Regions from separate parts of the Homo sapiens genome. Here regions 1, 2, 3, 5, 6 and 7 are each linked to region 4. Evidence: promoter capture Hi-C in human tissues and cell types (Jung and others, 2019). All regions are on one chromosome and are shown on one strand. Each heading gives the region's core, a stretch centred on a gene start or on the middle of the fragment in contact. The rest is flanking DNA. Distances are from core to core; before and after follow the strand shown. Region 1 overlaps ZNF845 (zinc finger protein 845). Region 2 overlaps ZNF765-ZNF761 (ZNF765-ZNF761 readthrough). Region 3 has its middle 6.6 kb from the start of ZNF841. Region 4 holds the start of ZNF611 (zinc finger protein 611). Region 5 overlaps ZNF350 (zinc finger protein 350). Region 6 overlaps ZNF525 (zinc finger protein 525). Region 7 overlaps ZNF616 (zinc finger protein 616).

The links. Contacts are between HindIII fragments. The study calls those that stand out against the background at their distance.
Region 1: a contact is called between a fragment that was not itself captured here and the fragment with the promoter of ZNF611 in region 4, in 3 of the 25 tissues and cell types used here (hippocampus, liver and spleen).
Region 2: a fragment that was not itself captured here is called in contact with the fragment with the promoter of ZNF611 in region 4 in 2 of the 25 tissues and cell types used here (aorta and hippocampus).
Region 3: a contact is called between a fragment that was not itself captured here and the fragment with the promoter of ZNF611 in region 4, in 1 of the 25 tissues and cell types used here (stomach).
Region 5: a fragment that was not itself captured here is called in contact with the fragment with the promoter of ZNF611 in region 4 in 1 of the 25 tissues and cell types used here (stomach).
Region 6: a fragment that was not itself captured here is called in contact with the fragment with the promoter of ZNF611 in region 4 in 1 of the 25 tissues and cell types used here (small bowel).
Region 7: a contact is called between a fragment that was not itself captured here and the fragment with the promoter of ZNF611 in region 4, in 1 of the 25 tissues and cell types used here (lymphoblastoid cells).

The regions. Positions count from the first base shown.
Region 1 is chr19:53,353,161-53,356,227 of GRCh38, reverse strand. ZNF845 (zinc finger protein 845) reads right to left here. Exons shown (of 4, transcript NM_138374.3): 4 at 1-3,067. The coding sequence ends at 2,640. It also overlaps the pseudogene LOC107987264. Among named protein-coding and RNA genes, the nearest start is that of ZNF525, 11 kb to the left of the region's middle. The HindIII fragment of the contact is 6,579 bases long and covers 1-3,067 here.
Region 2 is chr19:53,456,126-53,459,050 of GRCh38, reverse strand. It overlaps ZNF765-ZNF761 (ZNF765-ZNF761 readthrough), which reads right to left. Exons shown (of 13, transcript NM_001350496.2): 13 at 790-2,925. The coding sequence ends at 2,303. It overlaps ZNF761 (zinc finger protein 761), which reads right to left. Exons shown (of 5, transcript NM_001289951.2): 5 at 790-2,925. The coding sequence ends at 2,303. Among named protein-coding and RNA genes, the nearest start is that of ZNF813, 10 kb to the left of the region's middle. The HindIII fragment of the contact is 5,248 bases long and covers 1-2,925 here.
Region 3 is chr19:52,100,784-52,103,859 of GRCh38, reverse strand. No RefSeq gene overlaps it. Among named protein-coding and RNA genes, the nearest start is that of ZNF841, 6.6 kb to the right of the region's middle. The HindIII fragment of the contact is 3,157 bases long and covers 209-3,076 here.
Region 4 is chr19:52,733,435-52,736,678 of GRCh38, reverse strand. ZNF611 (zinc finger protein 611) reads left to right here and starts at 1,635. Exons shown (of 6, transcript NM_001161499.2): 1 at 1,635-1,678. It overlaps LOC124904760 (a long non-coding RNA gene), which reads right to left and starts at 2,648. Exons shown (of 2, transcript XR_007067328.1): 1 at 2,219-2,648; 2 at 975-1,885. RefSeq lists enhancers at 1,220-1,349, 662-1,647 and a silencer at 1,530-1,599. The HindIII fragment of the contact is 18,911 bases long and covers 1-3,244 here.
Region 5 is chr19:51,981,250-51,984,134 of GRCh38, reverse strand. The region is part of intron 1 of ZNF350 (zinc finger protein 350); the gene reads left to right. It overlaps ZNF350-AS1 (ZNF350 antisense RNA 1), which reads right to left. Exons shown (of 3, transcript NR_103847.1): 3 at 2,768-2,885. Among named protein-coding and RNA genes, the nearest start is that of ZNF350, 4.1 kb to the left of the region's middle. The HindIII fragment of the contact is 5,256 bases long and covers 1-2,885 here.
Region 6 is chr19:53,379,486-53,382,760 of GRCh38, reverse strand. ZNF525 (zinc finger protein 525) reads right to left here. Exons shown (of 4, transcript NM_001348156.2): 4 at 1-2,039. The coding sequence ends at 742. Among named protein-coding and RNA genes, the nearest start is that of ZNF765, 14 kb to the left of the region's middle. The HindIII fragment of the contact is 5,110 bases long and covers 1-3,275 here.
Region 7 is chr19:52,125,430-52,128,526 of GRCh38, reverse strand. The region is part of intron 2 of ZNF616 (zinc finger protein 616); the gene reads left to right. Among named protein-coding and RNA genes, the nearest start is that of ZNF616, 13 kb to the left of the region's middle. The HindIII fragment of the contact is 6,561 bases long and covers 1-3,097 here.

The DNA of each region.
Region 1 (3,067 bases), core at 257-2,756, 620 kb before region 4:
TTTAACAGAATTTGTATTGCTGTGATAGAGGTTCTTTTCAAACTGATGTCTTATCCTTCTGAGTGCCTCAAACTAGAGCCTGTTCAGACGTTATAACAAGTTTATACTGGTTTATTTTGGTACAAAAAGTGTGAAATTTATGCACAAATTTTTCATAATATGTATTTTTCCATGAACTTCTTGAAGACCCTTATACTAGCAAACTGTATTCAAGAGGATATAAAAAGGGATTGTAAACATCCAAGTGCTACCTATTCATGGGATGCAAGGATGGTTCAACATACTCAAATCAATGGGATACACACTTGCACAGAATGACAGATAAAAAACACATTATCTCAATAGATAGAGAAAAAGCATTTCACAGAACTCAATATTCATTCTTCGTAAAAATCCTAAACAATATAGGTAGAGTTTTACCTCAAAAATATAAAAATCATCCATGAAATGACCACAGCTGAAATAACCAATGAAGGAAAATGGAATGGTTTTCCTGTAGGATATCACATGATGCAAGAATGCTCTCACCCCTGATATTCAATAAATACTGGCTGTCCTAGGCAGAGCAATTAAATAGCAAAAGAAATAAAACTCATCCAAATCAGAAAGACAGAAGTAAAATTACATTTGTTGGGGCCGGGCTCATGGCTCACACCCATAATCCCAGCAATTTGCAAGTCCGAAGTGGGCGGATAATGAGGTTAGGCGATCTAACATATTCTTTCAAGTTCTCTTCAAGGTACTCACCATGTTGGCCCACCATCTGGGCCAACATGGTGAAACCCCGTCTTTACTAAAATAAAAAAAATAAATAAATTAGCTAGGTGTGGTGACATGCGCCTGTAGTCCCAGCTACTCAGGAGGCTGAGACAGAATTGCTTGGACGTGGGAGACAGAGGTTGCAGTGAGCAAAGATCATTCCACGGCACTCTAGCCTGGCGACAGAGAGAGACATTGTCTCAAAAAAAAAAATTATTTCCTTGTAGATGATACGACATTCTATATAGAAAATCACTGGCTGGGTGCGGTGGCTCACACCTGTAATCCCAGAACTTTGGGATGCTGATGGGGGCGGATCACCTGAAGTCAGGAGTTCAAGAAAAACCTGGTCAACATGGTGAAACCCCGTCTCTACTAAAAATACAAAAAAATTATACGGACATGGTGGCAGGCACCTGTAATCTCAGTTAGTAGGCAGGAGAATCACTTAAACCCGAAAGGCAGAGGCTGCAGTGAGCCAAGATCGTGCCATTGTACTCCAGTCCAAGTGACAAGAGTGAGACTCCTTCTCAAAAAAAAAGAAAAGAGCCTGGGTAACAGAGTGAGACTGTCTCAAAAAAAAAAGAAAGAAAATCACAAAGAATCAACCAAGATTTTACTGATACTAATAAACCCACTCAATGTATTTGCAGAATACAAAATCAGCACCCAAAATTAGTTGAATTTCCTTACATTAACAATAAATAATGTTTAAAGAAACTTATGAACACACTTCAATTTGCTATGAAACTTAATACTTACAAATAAACTGAATTAAGGAGGTGAGAAGCTTGTACCTTGAAATCTACATTGATCAAAAAAACTAAATAGACATACAACCCATATTGATGGATTGGAAGTCTTAATATTGTTGAATGATTATACAAACAAATGTGATTTAGATTCAACAGATACCCATAAAAACCCGTAACAGTTTTTATTAAAGAAACAAAATACAGGGTGGGAAAAGTGACTCATGTCTGTTGGCCAGTCTGGTCTCAAACTCCTGACCTCAAGTGATCTATTGGTCTTGGCCTCCCAAAGTGCTGGGATTACAGGCGTGAGCCACCCCGCCTGGCCCAATCTTCTTAACATAAACACTTTAATGTCAATTAATGCTTGAACTCAATGTTAAGTCAATTCAAACTCAAGTCAATGCTGAATTGACTCTAATGCCAATTAATGCTTGATGGTTTGCTATACTCATTGCATTTGGAACAATCATCTCAAAAATGAATTTTCTGATGTTCCTTAAGGGGTGATCTCAGACTGAAGACCTTGCCACACTGATGACATTTGTAAGATTTCTGTCCAGTATGGATTCTCTGATGTCTAATTAGGTGTGAACGTGAAGTAAAGGCTTTGCTGCAATCATCATACTTGTGAAGTTTGTCTCCTGTATGAAGTCTCCTGTTTTGCATAAGATGAAGCTAGACTGAAGACCTTGCCACAATCATGACATTTGTAAGGTTTCTCTCCAGCATGAGTTCACCGATGAACTGCAAGGTATGAACAATGTCTGAAAAATTTGCCACATTTATTACACTTTCAAAATCTCTCATTATGGATTCTCCAATGATTTGAAACGGTTGTAGTGTTACTGAAGACTTTGTGATAATCATTACATTAGTAAAGTTTCCCTATACCATGGATTGCCTGATGGTGAATAAGTGTTGACTGCCCACTAAAGGCTTTGCCACACTCAGTACACTTGTAAGGTTTCTCTCCAGTGTGACTTCTAGTTTGTTGGGCCAGGTGTGAATCACGCCCAAGATTCTTGTCACAAACTCTTACATTTGTAAGCTTTCTCTCCAGTATGAATTCTCCTGTCTTTCAAGACTTGATTTACAACTGTAAACTTTGTCACATTCTTCATATTTCTAATGTTTCTTTCCAGTATGAATTCTATGATGACGTGCAAGTTTTGCTTTTCGATTAAAAACCTTGCCACATTCATTACACTTGTAAGGTTTCTCTCCAGTATGAATTGTCTTATGAATTACAAGGACTGAATTGTGACGGAAGGTTTTGCCACACTCATTACACTTGTAAGGTTTCTCTCCAGTATGAATTCTATGATGACATGCAAGGTGTGCTTGTTGATTAAAAACCTTACCACATTTATTACACTTGTAAGGTTTCTCTCCAGTATGAAGTCTATGATGACGTGAAAGGTTTGCTTTTCTATTAAAAACCTTGCCACATTCACTACACTTGTAAGGTTTTTCTCCAGTATGAATTGCCTTATGAATTTCAAGGGCTGAATTGTGACGGAAGGTCTTGCCACACTCATTACACTTGTAAGGTT
Region 2 (2,925 bases), core at 397-2,896, 720 kb before region 4:
AGATGCCACCATGCCCAGCTAATTTTTGTATTTTTTGTAGACAAGGGGGTTTCACCATGTTGCCCAGGCTCGTCTTGAATACCTGGGCTCATGTGACCCACCTGTCATGGCCTCTGAAAGTGCTGGGATTATAGACCTGAGACACTGCATCTGATCTCATCGTAAATTTGATGTTTCTTCTTGTTTCAATTTTAGCAGAATTTATATTGCTTTGATAGAGTCTCTTTTCAAACTCATGTCTTATCCTTCTGAGTGCCTTAAACTACAGCCTGTTCAGACATAACAGACTTGTACCAGTGTTTTGTTGCAAAAACTAAAATTCATGCAAATTTTCTCATAATAGGTATTTTTCCATGAACTTCTTCAAGATCCATTGTACTAGAAAACTGTATTCAAGAGGACATTAAAAAAATGTAGATATTCAAGTGCCACTTATTTCTGGGATGCAAGGATGGTTCAACATATTCAAGCAAATCAATGTGATATACCACTTGAACAGAACAAAAGATGAAAACCACATCATCTTAATAGAGAAAAAGCATTTCACAAAATTCAAAATCCAGTCATCATAGAAATCCTAAACAAAATAGACAGAAAAGGAAATTTACCTCAACAATAGAAAGACCGTCCATGAAATGACCAATGAGTAAACAGTCAAGCAGGGAAAATGTAATGCCTTTCCTGGAGGCTCTCACATGATGCAAGAATGCTCTCACCCCTTCTATTCAATCAATACTGGCTGTCCCAGCCAGAGCAATGAAATAGCAGAGGAAATAAAACTCATCCAAATCAGAAAGTAAGAAGTAAAATTATATTTGTTTGTAGATGACATAATCTTCTGTGTAGAAAATCACAAAGAGCCAACCAAAATACTACTGGAACTAAGTAACATAGTCAGTGGATTTGCACAATACAGTATCAGCACCAAAAATTAGTTGAATTTCCATACTTTAACAATAAACAATTTTAAAAGAAAATTTTAAAACACTTCCATTTGCTGGAGAACTTAAAGAAATACTTAGAAATAAACGTACAAAGGTCAGAAGTTTGTACCTTGAAATCTACAAACATTGATCAAAATGATTAAAAACATTGAGCTACAACCCATATTGATAGCTTGGAAAAATTAATATTGTGAAATGATTATATAATAACCCAATGTGATTTAGATTCAACATGATATCCATAAAAATCCCTATCAGTTTTTTTAAAGAAACAAAAAACAGGCTGGGAAAATGGCTCACGTCTGTTGGCCAGGCTGATCTCAAACTCCTGACCTCAAGTGATCTACCCACCTTGGCCTCCCAAAGCGCTCAGATTACAGGTGTAAGCTGATGTGCCTGGCCCAATCCTCTTAACATAAACACTAATGTCAATTAATGCTTGAACTCAATGTTAAGTCAATACAAACTCAAGTCAATGCTGAATTGACCCTAATGTCAATTAATGCTTGATGGTTTGCTCTACTCATTGCATATGGACCAACTACCTCCAAAATGAATTTTCTCATATTCTGCAAGGAGTGAACTCAGACTGAAGACCTTGGCACATTGATGACATTTGTAAGATTTCTGTCCAGTATGCATTCTCTGATGTCTCATGAGGTGTGAAGTGAAGGCTTTGCCACTATCATCACACATGTGAGGTTTCTCTCCTGTATGAATTCTCCTATGTTTTGCATAGGATGAAGCTTGACTGAAGACCTTGCCACAGTCATGACATTTGTAAGGTTTCTCTCCAGCGTTGAGTTCACCGATGAACTGCAAGGTATGAACAATGTCTGAAAAATCTGCCACATTTATTACCCTAGTATGATCTCTCTTCCTTATGGATTCTCCAGTGATTCACAATGGTTGTAGCATTACTGAAGACTTTGTGACAATCATTACCTTAGTAAAGTTTCCCTACACCATGGATTGCCTGACGGTAAACAAGTGTTGACTGCCTACTAAAGGCTTTGCCACACTCATTACACTGGTAAGGTTTCTCTCCAGTGTGAATTCTAGCATGTTGTGCCAGGTGCGAATCATGCCCAAAAGCCTTGTCACAAACTCTTACATTTTTATGGTTTCTCTCCAGTATGAATTCTCCTGTCTTTCACGGTTTGATGTGCGACTGTAAACTTTGTGACATTCTTCACATTTATAAGCTTTCTCTCCAGTATGAATTCTCCTGTCTTCTGAGGCTTGATTTGCCACTGTAAACTTTATCACATGCTTCACATTTCTAAGGTTTCTCCCCAGTATGAATTCTATGATGACCTGCAAGGTGTGCTTGTTGATTAAAAACCTCACCACATTCATTACACTTGTTTTTCTCCAGTATGAAGTCTACGATGGCATGTAAGGTTTGACTTCTGACTAAAGGTCTTGCCACACTCATTACACTTGTAAGGTTTCTCTCCAGTATGAAGTCTATGGTGGCATATAAGGGATGACTTCTGACTAAAGTTCTTGCCACACTCATTACACTTATAAGGTTTCTCTCCAGTATGAAGTCTATGATGGCATATAAAATATGACTTCCGACTAAAGGTCTTGCCACACTCATTACACTTGTAAGGTTTCTCTCCAGTATGAATTCTCCTATGTCCTTCAAGGTTTGATTTCACACGGAAAGCTTTGTCACATTCTTCACATTTGTAAGGTTTCTCTCCGGTATGAAGTCTACGATGGCATGTAAGGGATGACGTCCGACTGAAGGTCTTGCCACACTCATTACACTTGTAAGGATTCTCTTCAGTATGAATTTTCTGATGTATTTCAAGGTTTGATTTGAAACTGTAAGCTTTGTCACTATCTTCACATTTGTAAGGGTTCTCTCCACTATGAAGTCTACGATGGCGTTTAAGGGTTAACTGCTGATTGAAGGTCTTGCCACACTCCTTACACTTGTAAGGTTTCTCTCCAGAATGAAGTCTACGAT
Region 3 (3,076 bases), core at 538-3,037, 630 kb after region 4:
ACGCAGGGGCTCATATGCTGGTCTTGCAACAATTTGCCTTTGAAATTGATAGTTAATTTCTAGAGAAACCAAACTTATTTCAGCTCTAAAAATTGACCCTGACAATCTCACATGTCCACTTCTTTCAGTATAACCACTGGTACTTGAGGAGTTGAATAGTTTTAATTTCTTGCCCTGTGTTTCACAAACACAGTTTATTTTGATTAGGAACTTCTACTGGGTCTGAAGATGAGGCTTGAACTGCTGTCAGTGTTTAAGATTTAGCAAGACTTGGTGTCCTTTTTAGACCCAGGAGTCAAAGCCCTTTAACTGAATGGAACAGGGACCTAAAAGCATATACGGAAAGTTATATGGACATAATAAACTTAATTTAAAAAAATTTAATTTAAATTTCCTTGTAACCAAACCAAACTTAGTAATACTGACACAGGAATTACTTTGATAAAGTGTGAGATCTGTTTAGTAGGCCAGTTTTCCAAAGGCAAAAGAAAAGCCCTTCTACAGTGTGACTGCTGTTCCCTATGGGAGATATTATGTTTGGAAAGAAACATTTCCTTTAGACCTCAAAAATAAAACATTTTATAGTGTCAGGCCACAACAGTTAGAACCCAAAGAAAAAAAGGCTACAGGAGCTGAAAATTAGGTGAAAAAGTTATGATTTCAGGCCTTTTAAGAGGGGAGAGAAAGCTGAAAACAGTGAGATTCCATAAAACTTGAACTTTACATTGAATAAATTATGTTTCATAATTTATTTAAAGCACCGCTTAACAAAATTTTGTAGTTTGAACCAATTCTTTAGTGTATAAGTGGTGTTTTTTAAAATCAAAACCCAATCTCTAGAAAGACCATTATAATTTCCCTTTAATTATAGTGAATTTGATCACATAAAACTTTTTTTCATCAATCTTATTATGACTTACACAGACCATTCATGACATGTGTGGGATTTCTTGTTTTTCCTGAACATTCATCTTTCTTATACAATCAGTCATTTTATTCCAGGACAAAATTTCTGATACAAGATTCTTTCTCATATAGAATTATTTTTCTTTAAGCTTTCCTACCAAAAATATTTATTTATTTATTTTTGAGACAGAGTCTCTCTCTGTGGCTCAGGCTGGAGTGCAATAGCTGAATCTTAGCTCACTGCAACCTCCATCTCCTGGGCTCAAGTGATTCTCCTGCCTCAGCCTTCAGAGTAGCTGGGATTACAGATGCACACTGTCATGCCTGGCTAATTTCTGTATTTTTAGTCGTGTTGTATTTTGAGACTTCTACCAGTCCATAGTATTTTCTAAAAACAAAACTAAATATAGATTTATAATAATCCTTTGGATGGTAAATTTTTGTGGGAATGAAGTAGCTGGGTACTCTGGAGGCTGAGGCAGGAGGATCACTTGAATCTGGGAGGTGAAGGTTGCAGTGAGCCGAGATAGTGCCACTGCACTCCAGCCTGGGCAACAGAGCCTGTCTTAAAAATAAATAAATAAATAAATAAATAAATAAATAAATAAATAAATAAATAGAAGTAGCTGGAGAAAGGTGCTTACTGCACAAGGAAGGCATACTTTCTGATACTGTATTAGGGATGTCATCAGGTGAAGTCAAGAACAACAAATCACAATGGACTGGAAACATTCTCAGGAGAACTGTAGCCATGAAAAGGACTGTTGTTCATTCTTGACCTTGTGGAATCAGTCCCTGACTCATCTTCTCAGCAACATTGCACATTTGCTGTGAAACAGAAACTACGGGGTACCTTCTTTATTTTCCTTTTCTGGATGGGAGGGTTTATTCAGGTTTCATTTTTCTGTTCCACAATGAAGTGTTGTGAGTGAGGAGAACTCTACTGGGCTCTCAATGAAAAGAAGTCTCATGAGACTGTCATGAGATCCTTGCTTGTGACTTGAAGTTACATTTTGGCTTATTCTTTTATATTTTTTAGAAGTGGGGGTGAATATTTGGTGTGAGCAAAAGAGGAACAGATTATTTCTGCTGGAAGCTGCACTGTCACATGTTATAATATTTTGAGACAGGATCTTGCTTTGTCACCCAGGTTGGAGTGCAGTGGCACAGTCTCAGCACACTGCAACCTCCACCTCCTGGGCTCAGGTAATTCTCCTACCTCAGCTTCCCAAGTAGCTGGGACTACAGGTGCATGCCACCAAATCCAGCTAATTTTTGTATTTTTTTGTAGAGATGGGGTTTCACCATGTTGATCAGGCTGGTCTCGAAATCCTGACTTCAAGTGATCCATCCACCTTGGCCTCGCAAAGTGTTGGGATTACAGGTATGAGCCACCGCACCCTGCCAAATTAGTATGTTGGGTTTTTAAAAATCCAACTGATACAGCTGTACATTAGCAACAGAGCTCTTGCTTTTACATTATACAATTTTAGTTCATTATCTTGTATCATTCCAGTTCTTTCACTGAACTTAAAATGTAAGGGACCCTCCATATATTGATAGAATACATCCTTTACATCTGTCAGGTCTCCGCATATTTTTTTGCCATACAAATCTGAAAATACCACCTTGATTTACTAATCCTATAAGTTTTTCACTGAAGTACAAGGAAAGAAATGTAAATCTTTAAATTGGATTAAATCGTTTCTAGGAAATTGTATAATGATTTTAAAAATTATTTTTAAAATTACATTTTGGCCAGGCACAGTGGTTCACGCCTGCAATGCCAGCACTTTAGAATGTGGGGGTGGGGAGATCGCTTGAACCTAGGAGTTTTAGACTAGTTTGGGCAACATGGTGAAACCCCATCTCTACTAAAAATACAAAAACTGAGGTTGGGGTATTGCCTGAGCCTGGGGAGGTGGAGGCTGCTGTGGGGTGTGATTACATCGCTGCACTGCAGCCTGGGCAACAGAGTGAGACCTCATCTCAAAAAAAAAAAGAAAAAAGTTTTGCTACAGCTGTGAAATCATTAGCCTTTGAAAAATAATTCTTCTATTAAATAATTTAATATTTATTGTCTGTTAGATATTAATTTTATAGTACAGGTGTAAAAATATAGGTAATTTGTCTAAACAGTATTTCAGAAACACTTCCAACAATTATATTG
Region 4 (3,244 bases), core at 386-2,885:
CGGGCGGATCACAAGGTCAGGAGATAGAGACCGTCCTGGCTAACTCGATGAAATCCCATCTCTACTAAAAATACAAAAAATTAGCCAGGCATGTTGGCTCACGCCGTAACCCCAGCACTTTAGGAGGCTGAGGCAGGCAAATAACTTGGAGTGAGGAGTCCGATACCGGCCTGGTCAACATGGTCAACCCCGTCTCTACTAAAAATACAAAAATTAGCCTGGCATGGTGGCGCACGCCTGTAATGCCAGCTGTTCCCAAGGCTGGGGCAGGAGAATCGCTTGAACCCAGGAGGCAGAGGATGCATTTAGTCGAGATCTCGCCACTGCACTCCAGCCTGGGCAACAGAGAAATACTCTGTCTCAAAAATAATAATAATAATAATAATAATAATAATAATAATACAAGAAAGTAATAGATCTCTTCCATAAATGTGCTAGGACAACTATCTGGATATCCACATGGAAAAGAATAATGTTGGATCCCTATGTCACACAATCAAAAATTTTATTTGCGAAAGTTTTTTTTAAAAAAAAAGAGAGAGAGAGAGACAAGAAAGGGAGACCGCGGCAGTGGGCGTTATTTTGTCGCTCAGGCTGGCTTGGAACCCGAGGCTCAGGGATCCTCCCGCCGCTGCTTCCTGAGTAGCTGGGACCTCAGGCTCCCGCCCCCGCGCCTCTGCTGTCTTTAAGCAGCAGGTGGTGACCTCACTCCTTCTCGGCCTGAGCACTCCGTCCGGCATTCCAGGCGGTGGCTTCAGGGAAGTCTCTGAAGCTGAGCACAGGGCGGAGTCTCCTTCCGGAGTGAATGGACAATAGAAAGGGAGAGGATATCTATCTGTTCTGTGGGACCTCAGCATGACATGGTACATACCGCCCAGGCAGGGCTTTGCATTTCACATTCTAGTTTGTATCCCTGTTCCAGACAATTACAGTGTAGCAGGACGAGTCGCAGACAAAACCTCTCAGACACCGAGTTGTAGAAGGAAGGGCTTTATTCAGCTGGGAGCATTGGCAAGCTACTGCCTTAAAATCCAAGCTCCCCGAGTGCACAATTTCTGTCCCTTTTAAGGGCTCACAACACTAAAGATTTCAGATGAAAGGATAGTGACTGATTGAGCAAGCAAGGGATACGTGACAGGGGCTGCATGCACCGGTGATCAGGGAGAGAGAGAACAGGGCAGGAGTTTCACCGTGTTCTTCTATACAATGTCTGGAATCTATGCCTAACATCAGCTTCTAAATCATAAGTTGATTTTTAACTACTGGGTTTAGGCCAGGCGGATCCAGGCCTGGTTTCGGGCCTGGCGCGGGGCTGCCTGTCTTTGGTTTTACTTCCTGTTGTTTTTACTGACTATAAAACAATATAAAACAATGTCAGAGGGTCTCTCTCTTCTCTCAACAGGGCTTTTGTATCATGCCTCAGACTTTCTGGCGCTCTCGCCTCCAAAACCTGAAAACAGAGACGCTGGGAGCGAGGCTGAGAGACGCGCAGATCCCGCCCCGGCCCTGCCCTCTGCCGGTTCTAAAAGGCAAGGTCTCTCCGCCTCGCGCCCCGCCCCTACCTCGCCCAGGCCCCGCCTACCTCCCACTTCCCGCCCAGGCCTGGCTTTTGTCCTGCGCGCGCAGATTAACGCAAACCCGGAAGCGGATCGGGTGGAGTGTAGGTCATATCGCCGCGGTGAGTTTTGCTCTGTGTTGTATTAAGTCTGCGCTAACTAGGTTCCCAGGGCTTCTGTCCCTGGGACGTGGGGTCCCCACAGACCTGGAAATTCTCCGGCGTCTTCCTTTGCCCAGAGCAAATTGAGACATCCCCGTGAGAGCCCGAGGGTCGCTTCCTTTTGGGTTTAAAGTCGTCCTGAGGCTGGTCTCGTCCCCGGTCTTTCTGCTATAGGTCAATGTATACACTTTCTGTTGCGTAGTTTTCCTGCTGAAAACCTTGTTCTGACTCCTCGCGCCCCGCGCTTTTTAAAGTCTTCACCCGCGATGTGGATTCTTGCCCAGGGCGCCTCCCAGCCTCCCCCTCCTCAGCCCCGGGAGCGCCGCGCCGCAGCCCCAGTCCCGGGGAGGCCGAGTCCTCTGCCAGGTCCTGGGATCCTGCAGACCCCATCCTGGTCCTAAGGCGCCGTCGCGCCCCCCCCCCCCGCCCCGCACCTTCCTCCTCATGCCGGGGCCTGCTGCTCCCCAGGTCTCCCCTCCGCAGTCACCGCTTTCATTGAACCTGCACTGGGGAGGTCCCAGGGGCCTGTCCTGCGGCACGGGGTATTCTTGCCTGCGGAGCTCCAGGGCGTGGAAAATGCGCTCCTCCGGGATGCAGGCGTCTTACTCCAAACCGTGTTGCGATTGTGTGGGCCAAAGGAATCAGGAGACAGAGAGCAGTAGAAAACCTGAGGCAGAGAAAAGAAGAATAAGAAAGGCCCATAACAGATGGCAAAATAGAGGATTGGTGAGGGATATGCCAAGAGATGGCAGAAGTGAAAAAAAAAAAAAAAAACCTAAGAAAGCAGGAGGAGAAAAGCAACCGGAGAAATGTAGAGAAAGGCTAGATAGATGTACAGAGAGATGAAGGATCACAAGGTAGGGGGAGTGGCAGCAAAGAGGGAGACTCATCAGAGTGAGGGAGAGAGGGAAGGATTTGGAGCCAGGGCAGACAGAGCAGAGTGGTGCTTGTGTCAAGGAGAACAGAGGGAGAACCACAGCAGAGAGGACAGCTGGGATCTGGGGAGACACAGAGTGGGGACAAGGGAGTATATCGGGGAAGATGGAATTTAACAGGGAGAGCAGAGGAGGCGCAGAGATGGGAGAAGAGGCAGAAATAGATGGAGATTGAGGACGATTGAAAGATTGGGGAGAAGGAGCAATAAGAGGTTAAATAAGTTGTGAGGATGGAGGAGAAGAGGTGGAAGAGAAGGAATAAAGGGAAGAAGGGGATGAATAGCAGGAGAGGAGAGGGGTACAAAATGAAGAGCAGAATCCCAGGGAAAAAGAAAAGAAAACAAGAGCTAGAGAGAGAAGGGGAGAATGAGAGATATGTACAGAATTAGGGAGGGAAGCACAGTAATGAAGAAAGAGGGTCTGGACACAGTGGCTCACGCCTGTAGTCTGTAGTCTCCACACTTTAGGAGACTGAGGCAAGGGGATTGCTTGAGTCCAGGAGTTCGAGACCAGCTTGGGCAACATAGTGAGACCTCCCCCCCGCCAAAAAAGTAAGTAAATAACCGGGCATAATGGTGTGCACCTGTACTCC
Region 5 (2,885 bases), core at 49-2,548, 750 kb after region 4:
GCGTGCTTGGCTCAACTGCAACCTCTGCCTTCTGGGCTCAAGTGATTCTTGTGCCACGGCCTCCCGAGTAGCTGGAATTACCAGCAGGTGCCACCTTGCCTGGCTAATTTTTGTATTTTTAGTAGAGATGGGGTTTCACCATGATGGCCAGGCTGGTCTCCAACTCTGGCTCAAGTGGTCCACCTGCCTGAAGGGGGCCTGCCCCTCCACACCTGTGGGTATTTTTTGCAAGGTGGAAATGAGAGACTGAGAAAAGAAATCAGACACAGAGAGAAAGTACAGAGGAAGAAAAGTGGGCCCAGGGGACTGGTGTTCAGCATATGGGGGACCCACACCGGCACTGGTCTCTGAGTTTTGTTAGTATTTATTGATTACTATTTTTACCATCTTGGTGAGGGGGGTGTGGCAGGACTATAGGGTAATGGTGGGGAGAGGGTCAGTAGGAAAACATGTGAGTAAAGGACTCTGTGTTATAAATAAGTTTAAGGAAAGGTCCTGTGCCTTGATGTGTACGTAGGCCAGATTTATGTTTGACTTTACACAGACATCTTAGTGTAGTAAAGAGTAGTATTGCCGCCAGTATGTCTCACCTTTAGTTATAAGGTGGTTTTCTCCTATCTTAGTAAATAGAATGTATGATTGGGTTTTATACCGGGACATTCCATTCCCAGGGAGGAGCAGGAGACAGATGGCTTTCTCTTATTTTAACTGTAAAGAGGTCTTCCTCTTTCACTAATCCTCCTCAGCACAGACCCTTTACGAGTGTTGGGCTGGGAGATGGTCAGGTTTTTCCCTTCCCACGAGACCATATCTCAGGCTGTATCAGTGGGAGGAAACCTTGGACAATACCCAGGCTTTCTTGGGCAGAGGTCCCTGCGGCCTTCCGCAGTGCATTGTGTCCCTGGGTACTTGAGACTGGAGAATGGTGATGACTTTTACCAAGCATACTGCCTGCAAACACATTTTAACAAAGCACGTCCTGCACAGCCCTAAATCCATTAAACCTTGAGCCAACACAGCACACGTTTCTGAGCACAGGGTTGGGGCTAGGGTTACAGATTAACAGTATCTCAAGACAGAGGAACTTTTCTTTGTACAGATTAAAATGGAGTTTCTTATGTCTTCCTCTTTCTATATAGACACAGTAACAGTCTGATCTCTCTTTCCCCCACACCTTCCTCAGCTTCCCAAAGTGCTAGGATTACAGGCGTGAGCCACGGCGCCCTTAGTTCCATTTATTGAAAAGACAGCTTTTATCTACTTCCCTGTAGTGCTATCATTGCCATTGAGTCTCTATATGTGCTTAATTCTGCTTATAAGGATTTTATTCTGTTCCTTTGTCCTATTTGCCTGTTATTGTACTAATATTGTGCTGTCCTAATTAAAGTAGCTTTATAAGTCCTCATAACTGATATGGCAAGTCTTCTAACTTTTTTTTCAAACTTTAAAAAAAAGTTTATAGCTATTTAAACTTTTCAGTATCAGTTTGGGATTGTGACTGTGATTTCATTGAATCTGTAGATTTGGGAGACTTGACATTTTTAAAATGCTTTGTTTTCCAGCCCATCTTTATAGTACATCTTTGCATTTATTTAAAACTGTTAAAATTTATCTCAGTAAATCTAATTTTAAAAATATATTCGAGTTCTTCTAAATGATATCGTTTATGTCAGCCTAAAAGAGGAAACTGCACAAAATACAATTTTAAAGAGTTTACTTGAGCCAAAATGAGGACAGCTGCCTGGGAAAATACTTTCAGGTTGCCTTGGTTAAGTGCTCTGTTAGGATTTTGTTAGAAACAGGTTTTAAAGTCAAAAGGGAACAAACCGTGAGCTGACATAAAGTTGTTTGGCAAGAATTCTCATTGGTTTACAGAAATAATATCAATTAACAATTGGCTGTACATTGTTAACTATGGGGTTTTATGAGTTAGGATGTCCAGTGAATGGCATTTTATGGCTACTCAGTGTGAGTTAGTCTAGAGCCTACATAGCAAGTGGCTTTAAGAGATAATTATTTAGCTTGAGGGGGAAATGAGATGTGACTATTGTCACATTAAATTTTTTTTTTAGTTTTTAATTTTTTCTTTTTTCTTTTTTTCAGGGGAACCCCTATCAGAAAGACTGCTGTCACATTTTAATGCCTCTCTAGACCTGATAATTTAAAGGGAGTCACATTCCTCAGATAAAAGATTCATTTCTTTCTCATTTATAAATTTTATTTTGTTTGTTGATGGTCTGTTCTGTCAGTTACTAGGAAAGGTCTGTTAAAGTCTTTAGTCTGAATTTTCTATTTCTTGTTTTTGGTTCTATTTTTTGCTGTATACATTTCAAGACTGTTGTTAGGGGTATACATATGGTGTATTTCTATGAATGAAGAGCCAAATTTCACCTCTTTTCAGTGAGCATTGTTTCTCTTTCTCTCTGTTAATTCTTTAGGATTTCTGGTCAGTTTTGTCTGAGATATAGTTATAACAGATTATCTTTGGTTACTCTCTCTGTGGCATATTGTCTCCAACCTTTTATTCTCAAGCTTCCCATATCATTTTGGTTCAGACATATCAACTATAATAACCGCATGTGGGGAGGCTGAGGCGGGTGTGTGATGAGATCCGGAGTTGAAGGCCAGCCTGACCAAGATGCTGAAATCCGATCTCTACTAAAAATACAAAAATCAGCCAGGCGCGGTGGCGGGCCGTAACCCACATGGACCCATGGGACTGCACAAATGGGGGTGAACGTGGGAATAAAGACAGGAGACAAAAGAGTATATTTGGGAGAAGGGGTCAGGGAGCACCTTACCTCTAGTGGACAAGGGCCCTGAGCTTTACACAGCCCTCCGTATTTATTAGGCAAAAGAGATAGGAGGGTGGGGGGGTGGAAGAA
Region 6 (3,275 bases), core at 628-3,127, 650 kb before region 4:
TGAAAAATTTGTCACATTTATCACACTTGTAAGGTCTCTCTTTATTATGGATTCTCCAATGATTTGCAATAGTTGTAGCATTACTGAAGACGTGGTGACAATCATTACATTTGTAAAGTTTCCCTCTGCCATGGATTGCTTGATGGTAAATAAGCGCTGACTGCCTATGAAAGGTTTTGCCACACTCATTGCACTTCTAAGGTTTCTCTCCAGTATGACGTCTATGATGGCATGTGTTAACTCCTTACTGAAGGTCTTGCCACACTCATTACACTTATAAGATTTATTTCCAGTATGAAGTCTATGATGGCGTGTAAGGCATGACTTCTGACTGAAGGTCTTGCCACACTCATTACACTTGTACGGTTTCTCTCCATTATGAATTCTCCTATGTCTTTCAAGATTTGATTTGTATCTGAAAGTTTCATCACATTCTTCACATTTGTAAGGTTTCTCTCCAGTATGAAGTCTATGATGGCATGTAAGGGATGATGTATGACTGAAGGTCTTGCCACACCTATTACACCTGTAAGGTTTCTCACCAGTGTGAATTCTCCTATGTCTTTCAAGGTTTGATTTGAAACTGAAAGCTTCATCACATTCTTCACATTTGTAAGGTTTCTCTCCACTATGAAATTTATGATGGTATACAATGGATGACGTATGACTGAAGATCTTGCCACAATCATTACACTTATAACATTTCTCTCCAGTATGAATTTTCTGACGTATTTCAAGATTTTATTTGAAACTGTAAGCCTTGTCACATTCTCCACACTTGCAAGGTTTCTCTCCACTATGAAGTCTACAATGGCAGGTAAGGGATAACTCCTGACTGAAGGTCTTGCCACACTCATTACATTTGTACAGTTTCTCTCCATTATGAATTCTCCTATGTCTTTCAAGACTTGATTTGAAACGGAAAGCTTCATCACATTCTTCACACTTGTAAGGTTTCTCTCCAGTATGAAGTCTACGATGGCATGTAAGGGTTGACATATGACTGAAGGTCTTGCCACAATCATTACACTTGTATGGTTTCTCTCCAGTATGAGTTATCCTATGACTTTCAAGGTTTGATTTGAAACTGAAAGCTTTGTCACATTCTTCACATTCGTAAGGTTTCTTTCCAGTATGAATGCTACGATGGCATGCAAGGTATGACTTCTGACTAAAGGTCTTGCCACACTCATTACACTTATGTGGTTTCTCTCCAGTATGAATTCTCCTATGTCTTTGAAGGGCTGAATTGTGTCTGAAAGCTTTGTCACATTCTTCACATTTGTAAGGTTTCTCTCCAGTATGAAGTCGATGATGATATGTAAGGGATGACATCTGACTGAAGGACTTGCCACACTCATTACACTTGTAAGGTTTCTCACCAGTGTGACATCTACGATGGCGTGCAAGGTATCGCTTCCGAATAAAGACCTTGTCACATACATCACATTTATATTGTTTCTCTCCTAGATGAATAATCTGATGTTTCCTTAAGAGTGAGCTATAATTAAAGGCTTTGCCACTCTCAATACATTGGAAAGATTTTTCTCTCATGCGTACTTCCTGTCTTTGTGTGAGTAATGAATAATTCAGAAAATTATCCCCATAGTTATTAGATATATGGGTTTTGGGCCTACAAGAAATTCTTTGGGCTGTTGAAACCGAGGAAGCATCGTTGATAGACTTCTCCACTTGATTATTAATTTTCCCTTTGGGCTGAAATATGTGGAGTTCAGACAGATGTGAATGAAAGCTTGATCCAAGCTGATATTTAATAGGCTTGTTTCCAGCATGCCTGTGATCATATTGCTCTGTACTACCCATCAATTTTTTGATTTTTGTCATGGGTGCTTCATGGCCATTTCTTTCATCTTCTTGCCACTGAAACTCAAAGTTATGAATATCTTTCTCAATTTCCTGGAAGGAAAAATCTCCAATGTGATGACGTTCATGTCTTTGCAATGTCCCTGTGTGGATCACTTCTGTATTGCCTTGTGCTGTTGATGAGAACTCCTTCATTGTGCATTTGGAAGAGATACCTACAAAATATAAACACTAATAGGTACACAAAAGACAATACTGATTTTAAACTTCCCAAACATGATCTTCAAAGTTTAGGAACACAAAATCGTAAGATTCTTTAATAAATAAAGGGCGATTACATGTGCTTCAAATTATTATTATGAAAGCTTATTTCCAATATCATGACAAAACACTGAAGGGCACAAACATGTGTAAGCCTAAAATAAGGAGTATTTTTCCACTGTGACCCTAAAGTGTCTAACAGTTTGCAAAAGACATATCACTGTCACATCAATGAAAAGTATATATTCTTCATATTTACAGCATACTTACTGTATACAAATAAATACTAAAGGACCACACAATATAATATACTGGTAAATAATCCACAGCAAGCTCATGTAAGGATAACCAAAATCAATGGAAATTCTGTATTGTTAAATAATCATAGCACTGAGAAGATAAGAAAAGTTTACAAAATTTAGCAAGGCATGGTGGTGCACGTCTGTACTCCCAGCTACTCGCAAGGGTGAGGTACAAGAATTGCTTGAACCCAAGAGGCAGAGGTTGCAGTGAGCCGAGATCGCACCACTGTACTTCAGCCTGGATGACAAAGTGAGACTCCATCTCAAAAAAAAAAAAATATTTTTCTGAATAACTGTCATAAAATTACCTATATCCATGCAGAAAAGGCATATTGTAACATTTAAAATTTTTTTTTTATTTTTGTATTTTTGAGACAATGTTTCACTGTGTCACAACAGGCTGGAGGGCAATGGCCTGATCTCAGCTCACTGCAACCTCCACCTTTTGGGTTCAAGCCATTCTCCTGCCTCAGCCTCCTGAGTACATGGGATTACAGGCACATGCCAGCATGCTTGGCTAATTTTTGTATTTTTAGTAGAGATAGGGTTACATCATATTGGCCAGGCTGGCCTTGAACTTTTGACCTCAAGTGATCCACCCGCCTCAGCCTCCCAAAGTCCTGGGATTGCAGGCGTGAGCCACAGCACCCGCTGGCACTTTGTGACATTAACTAGTAAACTGTGTCAGTTATATTGCATACCACATACCGAAAAGCTTTATGTAAAATCATAAAAATGAATTGGTAAAATAACTGTAACGCATAAAACCAGCAAGCAAATCATAAGTACATTTATACAAACTGCAGAATTCTAAACAATTCCCTGTTAAGAAAAAAGCACAACTTCTACTTACCACCAGCACACAATATAAGAACTGAAATACATGTT
Region 7 (3,097 bases), core at 456-2,955, 610 kb after region 4:
AGGTGATCCACCCGCTTTGGCCTCCCAAAATGCTGGGATTACAGGCATGAGCCACCGTGCCCAGCTTTAGTTTTACACAGAAAGAAATTTATAACCTAAGAAAAGGACATCAAGGCATATATATTTTAAAAATTTAACTACAGAATATGAAATGGCTCCTAGAATGCAGTAAAGGAAAACTGAGCAAAGAATGAAAATTATTTTGGTTTGATTTCCACAAAATAATGAAACCTCCTCACAGTCCAAGGAATTGGAAAATGGAAATACGAAGGGTTTTCATTTTCCCCATAGCCTCAAAATGTAAACAGAACATAGTAGTAAGTTTTTTTTTTTTTTTTTTATTGGGTGGGAAATCCACCCAATATGTGTCGTTGGTGTATGAGGACACCATTGCACCTTAGGGTAGTGGGAAATCTTGCCAGATCCAGGAAAATAGGAAATGCACCATCCTAAAGAGGCAATCACTCTTTCAGTTACCCAACCTGGAGGAACCCGGGTTTCTTTTCCCTGTCACTTTCTCCATCATCCCTCATGTTTCCGTGGGGAGCTACAGTTGTAAGTTCTGTGGCAAGAGTCAGTGAGAGGTGTCAAGATGCATTTACGTGTCATTATGAGATTTTAGAAAACAATTCTTCAGTACATGTTCTGTTGTGAAATTTCATTGTGCCAGTTTTTCAAAGATACATCTTTTTTTGTTAATAAGCAGTAATAGCTTGTTTTGCATCCTCTTTGGAACAATCTCTAAATGAAGACATATGGATCTTTTATAATTTTTCACCATGGCTGCCACAATGCTCTCTTCACCACAGGTGTTTGAGGGTTCCTTCAGGTTGGACAGTTTAAAGAGTGGTTGCTTCTGTTAGGACGCTATACCACAAAAGCAAAAATAAATAACTGATCTTTCTTTGGAAGGCCTGGCTCGCTGTGTGATTATAAAATACTGTGTTTTTTTAAGATCTAATATTTTGTTGCTTACATTTTATTTGCTTGAATCTTTAATTTGAATTTTTCTGTATATCTTGTTGTAGATTATATTTGATTATAAAGTTTTAGATTATAAATAACATAATAGGTTCACAAGTAGATTGGCAAACCCCTCCATTTTCTTTCCAAAATTATTATGGTTCTCCTTTTACACAACACAGCCACATATTATTTAAATTCCACATATTGGCCGGGTGTGGTGGCTCACACCTGTAATCCAGGCACTTTGGGAGGCCAAGGTGGGTGGATCACCTGAGGTCAGGAGTTCAAGACCAGCCTGGCCAACATGGTGAAACCCTGTCTCTACTGAAAATACAAATATTAGCCGGACATGATGGTGCACGTCTTTAATCTTAGCTACCTGGGAGGCCGAGGCAGGAGAATCCCTTGAACTTGGGAGGTGGAGGTTGCAGTGAGCTGAGATCGTGCCACTGCACTCCTGCCTGGGTGACAGTGAGACTCTGTCTTCTAAAAAAAAAAAAAATTCCCACATATTTTGTTTGTGTTTTCATGGCTCTGAATTTTTTCAGTTGCAGGCCTTTATGTCACCATGTCTTCCAAAAAGAATCGAGTTTGTCAGTCTTTGATAATATCTTTATTATGTCTTTCATTAAAGCTTGTTTGCTTATGTAAAGTTCAGTAATGTTAGATATATTCACATTATTTGTTGGACTCCCAGAATGCATATGTTCTTGGTGCTTGATGGTTTTTCATGGGCCCATTAGACTCTCTTCATTTTCTTTATTTTATTTAATTATTTATTATTTATTTTTTGAGATGGAGTCTCGCTCTGTCGCCCAGGCTGGAGTGCAGTGGCATGATCTCGACTCACTGCAACCTCTGCCTCCTGGGTTCGGGCAATTGTCCTGCCTCAGTCTCCCTGAGTAGCTGGGACTACAGGCACGTGCCACCACACCTGGCTAATTTTTGTATTTTTAGTAGAGACGGGGTTTCACCGTGTTGGCCAGGCTGGTCTTAAACTCCTGACCTCAGGTGATCTGCCTACCTTCGCATTTTCTTTATTTTTGGAGACAGAGTCACACTCTATTGCCGAGGCTGGAGTGCAGGGGTGGGATCTCAGCTCACTGCAACCTCTGCCTCCTGTTCAAGCAATTCTCATGCCTCAGCCTCAGATTACAGGCATGTGCCACCATGCCTGGCTAATTTTTGTATTTTTAGTAGAGATGGGGTTTCATAATGTTGGCCAGGCTGGTCTCGAATTCCTGCTCTGAAGTGATCTTCCTGCCTGGCGTTCTGAAAGTCCTGGGATTACAGTTGTGAGCAATCATGCCCGGCCCACATTTCTTTTTAATTCTTCAAAGCCAAGATGTAAATTGCCATTTCTTTCATGTAGGTTTGTACAGATTCAGTTGGTTTCTTTTTGTAGACCGTATTTCCCTGTTTCTTTGTATGTTTTATTGTCTTCTTTTGTGACTTCAGCATTTGAAAAAATCAGCTGCCTGCCCAGATTTGGTGGCTGCTTTGTTCAGGGAGGACATTCCAATCAACTACCCTAGATTCTGGAGACTTCCCATGCTTTTTCTCTGGGCCTTTGCTTGTCATCTCCCTATTGAAGAGGTTTGCTGCTTTCTACTCAGAAGCTCCCCTATTTTCTGTACTATTGTGGATAGACTCTGGTACTGCAGATATCTGTGGTACTAGATCTTCACCCTCATGTCTTTCTGTGTTATTGCAGACACCGGTTTACGTCAGTTATCTTTTTGCTCAGTGGCCCCTAACCTTTCATCCTGTTCCTTTCAGTGCTACCACAGGAGGTCACCACTAAGGCAATTCTCAGCCTAGCCATGGAGGCAGGGACACCTTAGAGAGTGCTTATTAGGGCAAGGTCAAGGGGAGCCCTGGAAGCAGGACCACGCCTGAGACCCCAGAACTGTAGAGTCACCAGTATGTGATCCCAGCTCGGGAAACCACAGCCTGTGAGAAGTTCCATGTGGGTGATCCCAACAAAACTAATGGGGCAGGGATCCCCAGGACACTGGGGACCTAACTCCTACTCCAGGATGTCTAGAAGGTGGGACATAGAGTCAAAGAAGATTATTGTCAAGCCTTAAGATTTAATATGTGTGCCCTATTTGAGTTTCAGACTTAACAT